Regions from separate parts of the Homo sapiens genome. Here region 2 is linked to region 1. Evidence: promoter capture Hi-C in human tissues and cell types (Jung and others, 2019). All regions are on one chromosome and are shown on one strand. Each heading gives the region's core, a stretch centred on a gene start or on the middle of the fragment in contact. The rest is flanking DNA. Distances are from core to core; before and after follow the strand shown.

What was found. The method cuts DNA at HindIII sites, captures the fragments that hold promoters and counts their contacts. A contact is called where the count stands out against the background at its distance.
Region 2: a contact is called between a fragment that was not itself captured here and the fragment with the promoter of BAIAP2L1 in region 1, in 1 of the 25 tissues and cell types used here (liver).

The regions. Positions count from the first base shown.
Region 1 is chr7:98,399,120-98,402,821 of GRCh38, forward strand. BAIAP2L1 (BAR/IMD domain containing adaptor protein 2 like 1) reads right to left here and starts at 1,971. Exons shown (of 14, transcript NM_018842.5): 1 at 1,683-1,971. The coding sequence starts at 1,733. RefSeq lists a silencer at 1,645-2,304. The HindIII fragment of the contact is 4,393 bases long and covers 1-3,283 here.
Region 2 is chr7:98,266,561-98,270,262 of GRCh38, forward strand. It overlaps LOC124901705 (a long non-coding RNA gene), which reads right to left. Exons shown (of 3, transcript XR_007060446.1): 2 at 1,831-1,953; 3 at 668-801. Among named protein-coding and RNA genes, the nearest start is that of BRI3, 13 kb to the right of the region's middle. The HindIII fragment of the contact is 6,745 bases long and covers 1-3,702 here.

The DNA of each region.
Region 1 (3,702 bases), core at 721-3,220:
ATAGTAGCAATCTCAATACAAATGTAGGAATTTCTCAAATTTCGAATTTCTCAAATTTCTAAAGATCGCCCTCTATGAAGGCAACACACGAATAGAAGAGTTTTTGGTCACAGTGACTGAGCATCAAAAACGCTGTGTCAACTGTGTCTACTCTCCCTACCTGTAAGGCATAATTTATATGTGACAGTATACACTTTGTGTGTTAAGATAAACGGAACGGATCTCTTGGATTTCAATACATAACAAAAATGTTCATGTTCTTCTCTTACTTTCATTCAACAAAAGTTAATAGACTCCTCTGATTTTAGGAATTCAGACCTTGAAAACCCAGAAACTAAAATTTTAGGTTTAAAAAAGTCTATCAAAATGACTAAACTTCCTGATTCAAGCACCAGGGACAGAAAAAAGATAAAACACACCAACCAACCAACCGACCAACCATTTATTTATAACCTTAAACATGCCTATACATGAACTTAGAGAACGTTAAAGTTTCAAGGGTTCGAAGCGCCTAGGCTGAATTAAAACAAAAGTTGTTTTGTGTTCTATTAATAGCAGATGATTAACAGATATCTTATTTCACCTGGAATTCATTTGTAAGTATGTAAACTAAACAGGCCACTAATCCTAAGTCTCTGTCTGTGTCTGGAAAAATTCTCTCCTAATACATGCAAGTTAAGAGACCGGCTATCAACGCATTCCTTAAGGTTAGGTCAATTTCATTAAAACCTCGGTTGTTCTTTGACTTCAAGAACCTCACCAAATAACCCATATATAAAAGCCAAGTTCAACTGAAAGGTGGGAGAGGAAGGGTCTAAGGAGGAGGGCGTTTCCCGGGAGAACGCCCAGAGCTCGGCTCACCTGGCGATCCTAATTACAGGGGAGTTTCACCCCCACATTCTTGGGCGCTTTCTTTTCTTAGAGGAAACTCGAGCTTGTGTCTTTGGTCCCGGAGGGCTTAAGCCCGGCAGCCAGGACAGCACGGGTCACTGATTCCAAGAAGTTGGGAGGAGGACGTGGGCCCCACCGACGCACAACAGACCCCTCCCCAACTTAAGTGCACTAGTTGTAAAATGTGTAGCTGGTCAGGGGATGGGGGGTGGTCTCCAGAGCTCTGAGGGTCAGGGAAGAGGAGAAGGGACGGGGAGGAGAAGGGACAGGGGAGGCGGAGAAGGGCCAGGAGAGGAGGGGGAGACACACGGGGAAGGAGGAAGAACCAAGAGGAGGGGGAGGGGGAGGGGGAGGGAGGGGGATAGACTGGGGAGAAGAAGGGACAGGGGAGGAGGGGGAGACACACGGGGGAGAAGGAAGAACCAGGAGGAGGGGAGGGACAGTGTCGAGGGGCAGGGGAGGAGGGAGAGTGAACGGGGAGCGGAGGGGCAGAGGGAGAGGTACAGCGGGGCGGGAAAGAGAGACAGGGAAGAAGCACAGGGAGGAGGGGAGGGAAGGAGGAGGAAAAGTAGGGGGGAGGGGATGGGGAGGGACTGGGAGGAAGGAGAGGGCCAGGGGAGGAAGAAGAGGGGCTGTGGAGGGCCAGGGGAGGAGTGGGAGAGACCGGGAGAGGTGGAAGGACGCGGGGGAGGGGAGCTGGAGGGAGGGAAAGTACCTTCCCGCGTAAAGTCCCCTTCTGAACCCCGAGGTGGAAAGCCCTGACCTCCCTGAGCCCCGGGCCCTGGGCTTACCCGGTAGGTGCTCTCCGTGAGCCGGTTCACCTCCTCGGGCCCCCGGGACATGGCTGCGGCCGCCGGGCGAGCAAGCGCGGGAGGACGCGGCTGGGCCTCGTGGCCGCCGGACTCCGGGCAGCGGGAGGGCCGGGGCGCGACTAAGGGGCTCTGGAGGGTCGGCCGCCGCCGCAGCCGTCGGCCCGAGAGTGCCCGCGCGCGTCTCCGCTGCGAAAATGTCAAAACTTGCGGCAGCGCCGCCCTGGCCTTCTTCGAGGAGCAGAGGAGAAGCGGCCGGACGCCGCCAGAGGAAGCTGGGCGGGCCGGGCGGCCCCACCTGAGGCGGGCGGGGCAGACGGGGGCGGGGCCGCAGGGCCGGAGGGGCGTGGCGTACCCACCTGAGGCGGCCTGGTGAGCGGGGCCCGGCCGGGGTGGGCGGGGAGGAGGCGGGGCCAGGCAGCTGGAATGGGCGTGGCCAGAGGGAAGCGGGCCCCCCGAGTGGGCGGGGTCACCCCACCTGTGGCGGACAGGGCAGCGAGGCCACGGTGCGCCCCCTCGCGGCTCTCCCAGAGCTCCGGCGACGTAGGGCCCGAGACCCTGGAGTGGGGACCGGTGTGGAGTGGGCTGCTCGCTTTGCTGTTTTGCTAGGGCAAGGGCAGCCTGGGGGTGTTTAGACTGTGGTCCTGGAGCCCTTGTTTGCCTCGCGTGGTGCTGGCCCCGGGGACCCCGAGGCCCACTTCCTCCATGAGGGCTTCCTTCAAGCCCTGCGTTTTGGGGACCAAGGGAAGGGGCCACATTCCCCAGTTGTATTGATTTCCCTGATTGATCTCTTCTTGCCCCGCCGCTCACTGACCCCAAAAGTTAGAGGGACCCGTGGGGGCATCGGCCCTCCTAGGTGGAGAAAACGGGCTGCCACTTGCAGTTTTGAAAGCTCCTGATATATCAAAAAATTAATAAATGCCAGGGTCTAGTTACCGAAATGTTAGTACTTTTTTTTTTTTGAGATGGAGTCTCACTCTGTCGCCTAGGCTGGAGTGCAGTGGTGCGATCTCAGCTTGCTGCAACCTCCGCTTCCCAGGTTCAAGCGATTCTCCTGCCTGGCATGAGCCATCCTGCCTGGCCCCCAGATAGAAGCTTTTTGTTTGTTTTTGAGACAGAGTTTCACTCTTGTCCCCTCAGGCTGGAGTGCAGTGGTGCTCTCTCAGCTTGCTGCAATCTCTGCCCCCCAGGTTTAAGCAATTCTCCTGCCTCAGCCTCTCGAGTAGCTGAGATTACAGGTGCACGTGCCACCAAGCCAGGCTAATTTTTTTGTATTTTTAGTAGAGACGGGGTTTCACCATGTTGGCCAGGTTGGTCCCGAGCTCCTAACCTCAGGTGATCCGCCCTGCTCAGCCTCCCAAAGTGCTGGGATTACAGGCTTGAACCACCGCGCCCGGCCCAGTAGTACATTTTTAAACTTTACATTAACAACGACCTTTAACTCAATGCAGTGTAACCATGCTACTCACGAGATTGTTGTAGGGTTTAGAAAACCACCTGAGCTGAAGTGTTAGGGAAGCCTCTCTTCTTGTCATCACTCAAACTCTGTGGAGGTGTGTGGCTCCTGGGCTCCCTATTTTGTCTCCATCCCGGCCTCAGCCCTGCCCAAGGGTGAGGCAGCTGCCTTCTTTGGGCCTCTCTTCCAGGATTATGTACCTTGGGCTGGGTGACAGCCTTCTCCCCAGTAAGAACCACCATTTAGCTACCTGAGACCCGCACCCAACAAGGGCAGAGGTCTTATTCTGATTTTTTAAAACCTCTGGGCTTGGTGGCTCATGCCTGTAATCCTAGCACTTTGGGAGGCCAAGGCAGGCGGATCACTTGAGGTCAGGAGTTCGAGACCAGCCTAGCCAACATGGTGAAACCGCCCTGCCCCCGTCTCTACTAAAAATACAAAAATTAGCCAGGCATGGTAGCACGTGCACCTGTAATCTCAGCTACTCGGGAGGCTGAGGCAGGAGAATTGCTTAAACCTGGGAGGCAGAGATTGCAGTGAGCTGAG
Region 2 (3,702 bases), core at 557-3,056, 130 kb before region 1:
AGCTTGCAGTGAGCCAAGATCACACCACTGCACTCCATCCTGGGCAACAGAGTGAGACTCTGTCTCAAAAAAAAAAAAAGAAAAACATAGGCCGGGCACAGTGGCTCATGCCTGTAATCCCAGCACTTTGGGAGGCTGAGGCGGGCAGATCACGTAAGGTGAGGAGTTCGAGACCAGCCTGGCCAACATGGTGAAACCCCGTCTCTACTAAAAATAGAAAAATCAGCCAGACATGATGGCACATGCCTGTAATCCCAGCTACTCGGGAGGCTGAGGCAGGAGGATTGCTTGAACCCTGGAGACGGAGGCTGCAGGAGGTTGCAGTGAGCCAAAATCACACCATTGCACTCCAGTCTGGGCGACACAGCAAGACTGTCTCAAAAAATAAAAAATAAAAAATAATAATAATAATAATAACTTTAAAAAAAAAGGTTTGAGGCAGCTGTTCACTCCATCTGCCACATGGTGGCACAGCAAGTGGGCAACTATGAAGCAAGAGTGAGCCCTGACCAAGCACTGAATCTGCTGGGGACTTTATATTGGACTCCCCAGTCTCTAGAACCATGAGAAATAAATTTCTGTCATTTATAAATTACCCAGTCTAAGATATTTTGTTATAACATCCCAAAGAAACTAAGACACTGCACAACAAATGGTCACAAATTTATCAGCTCCCAACAGCACACATTTATTCTTCCACAGTTTCCATTGGCGAAGTCTGGGCACTGCTTGGCTGTGTCTTCTGCTCAGGGTCTCTTGGGGTTACATTCAAGGTGTTGGAGGGAGAGGCTGCATTCTCATCTGGAGGTGCGAGTGGGGAATAATCTGCTGTCAAGCTCGTCCAACTTGGCAGAATTCATTTCCTTGCAACCGATGATGGAAGGCACCCTGTGTCTTGCTGACTGCTGTCTTCCCTCAGGTCCTGGAGCCACCTACCATTTCCTGCCACATGACCCTCTCCAGGGGCTGATCACAACATAGTTGCTTGCTTCTGCAAGGCCAGCAGGACAGAGGCTCTAGCCTCCAAAAGGGCCAAATCCCTCTTCCAAGGGCTTCTATTAATTAAACCAAGCTCACCCAAGATATTCTCCCTTTTGATGAACTCAAAAGCAACTCAATTCAGTTAAGTACATCTGCCAAACCCTTTCATCTTTTCCATATTCTATTAGCTAGAAGGAAGATAGAGTTCAATTCAAGGAAAGGGGGTTACATAGGAGGCAGAGAGGCTGGGAGCCACCCAAGGGTCTGTCAGCCGCAGTGAAATGACTGGGAGAAAGATAATTTGATTTTGGTATGGAGAGGGAGCCATAGATAAATATGCCTACTGATCTCAAGGAAGTCAAATTAAGACAAACATAAAGGAGGCCAGGTGCACTGGCTCACGCCTGTAATCCCAACACTTTGGGAGGCCAAGGTGGGCTGATAACCTGAGATCAGGAGTTCGAGAGCAGCCTGGCCAACAGGGTAAAACCACATCTCTACTAAAAATACAAAAATTAGCCTGGCATGGTGGCACATGCCTGTAATCCCAGCCACTCGGGAGGCTGAGTCAAGAGAATTGCTTGAACCCGGGAGGCAGAGGTTGCAGTGAGCTGAGATCACACCGCTGCATTCCAGCCTGGGCGACAGAGCAAGACTCTGTCTCAAAAAGAAAAAGAACTGGTGGGCACGCTGGCACACACGTATAATCCCAGCACTTTGGGAGGCCGAGGTGGGTGGATCACCTGACCTCCTCACCTGAGGTTGGGAGTTCGAGACTGGCCTGACCAACATGGAGAAACCCCGTCCATAGTAAAAAATGCAAAATTAGCTGGGAATGGTGGCACATACCTGTAATCCCAGCTACTCGGGAGGCTGAGGCAGGAGAATTGCTTGAACCCCGGAGGCGGAGGTTGTGGTGATGTGAGATTGTGCCACTGCACTCCAGCCTGGGCAGCAAGAGCGAAACTCCTTCTAAAAAAAAAAAAAAAAAGACCAGCTTATGTGGAAGGTGCTTCTGTTGGGCACTCAGGGTCAACGGATGCAGGGCAGGGTGGTCCTGAATGGCACGCTGAAGGGCCAGGATCTCACACCATGGGCTGCTGAGAGCCACTGAAGGTTTTTAAGCAGGGAGAGCTGGTGGCTCAGCTGAGCACAGTCACTCAAGGAAGATTACTCTGATGGTGGAAGGGGTACGCAGAGATGGGAAGCTTGCAGGTGACAGGGGCTGGGACTAGTCTAGGTCATGAGATGGATAAGAAGGCTGTGTAGGCTTTAAAAGCAAGACACAAGGGCTAGGAGCAGTGGCTCACACCTGAATCCCACCACTTTGGCAGGCCAAGGCAGGAGGATCACTTGAGCTTAGGAGTTTGAGACCAGCCTGGGCAACACAGCAAGACCCTGTCTCTTAAAAAAAAAAAAAGCAAGACACCATTATTACACCTCAATAAGGCTGTACACACACACACACACACACACACACACACACACACACACACACACACGACAGACTACAAGTCGTAGTTCCTGGATACAGGAATACAGGAGCATTGTATGTTTCCATGGAAAAGGGTTTCTCAAAAACTAAAGAGGGGCCAGGCATGGTGGCTCACACCTGTAATCCCAGCACTTTGGGAGGCGTGTCTTGACCTTGTGGCCTCAAGCGATCCTTCCACCTCAGCCTCCTGAGTAGTTGGGACTACAGGTGCGCACCACCACACCTGGTTAGTTTTTGTATTTTTAGTAGACATGGGGTTTCACCATGTTGGCCAGGCTGGTCTCGAACTCCTGACCTCAGGTGATCCATCTGCCTTGGCTCCCAAAGTGCTGGGGTTACAGGCATGAGCCACCGTTCCCGGCCCATATCCCTTTTTCTAATGCTATATTATAAATGCAAAAAGGAATTGTCCCAGGAAAGTAAGGAAAATGATCCACTAAAAAGAATGAATGAATGATGATCTTTTTTTTTTTTAAATTTTTATTTTTTGTAGAGATGGGGTTTCACTGTGTTGCCCAGGCTGGTCTCAAACTCCTGGGCTCAAGCCATCCTCCCGCCTCAGCCTCCCAAAGTGCTGAGATTATAGGCATGAGCCACCAGGCATGGGCATTACAGGCATGAGCCCAGCCTGAGGTGGGGGTCTCTGAGGGGGGCTTGGTTCATGCAACTGAGGGGTCATTCCTGCCTACTCACGGATCAGGCTTTCTGCTCACCTCAACTGACCCTAAAGACACTTTCTTTTTTTTTTTTTTTTTTTTTTTGAGATGAAGCCTCGCTCTTATCCCCCAGTCTGGAGTGCAATGGCGCGATCTCGGCTCACTGCAACCTCTGCCTCCCGGGTTCAAGTGATTCTCCTGTCTCAGCCTCCCTAGTAGCTGGGATTACAGGTGCATACCATCACGCCCAGCTAATTATTTGTATTTTAAGTAGAGACAGGGTTTCACCATGTTGGCCAGGATGGTCTCGAATTCCTGACCTCAGGTGATCCGCTGGCCTCAGCCTCCTAAAGTGCTGGGATTACAGGCGTGAGCCACCACGCCTGGCCCCTGAAGACACTTTCTAGGGCCTCAGGGAAAGCCTGAAACTGGGCTGCTGGCTTGGGCATTTGTCACTTGGCAACTTGGGCATTGTCTTGTCACATTGTGTTCATGTGGCTGGTTCTCCGTTGCCAATTCTCATAAGTCAGGGTTTTTATCAAGGATTCCCTTGGCATTGGTATTAATCCA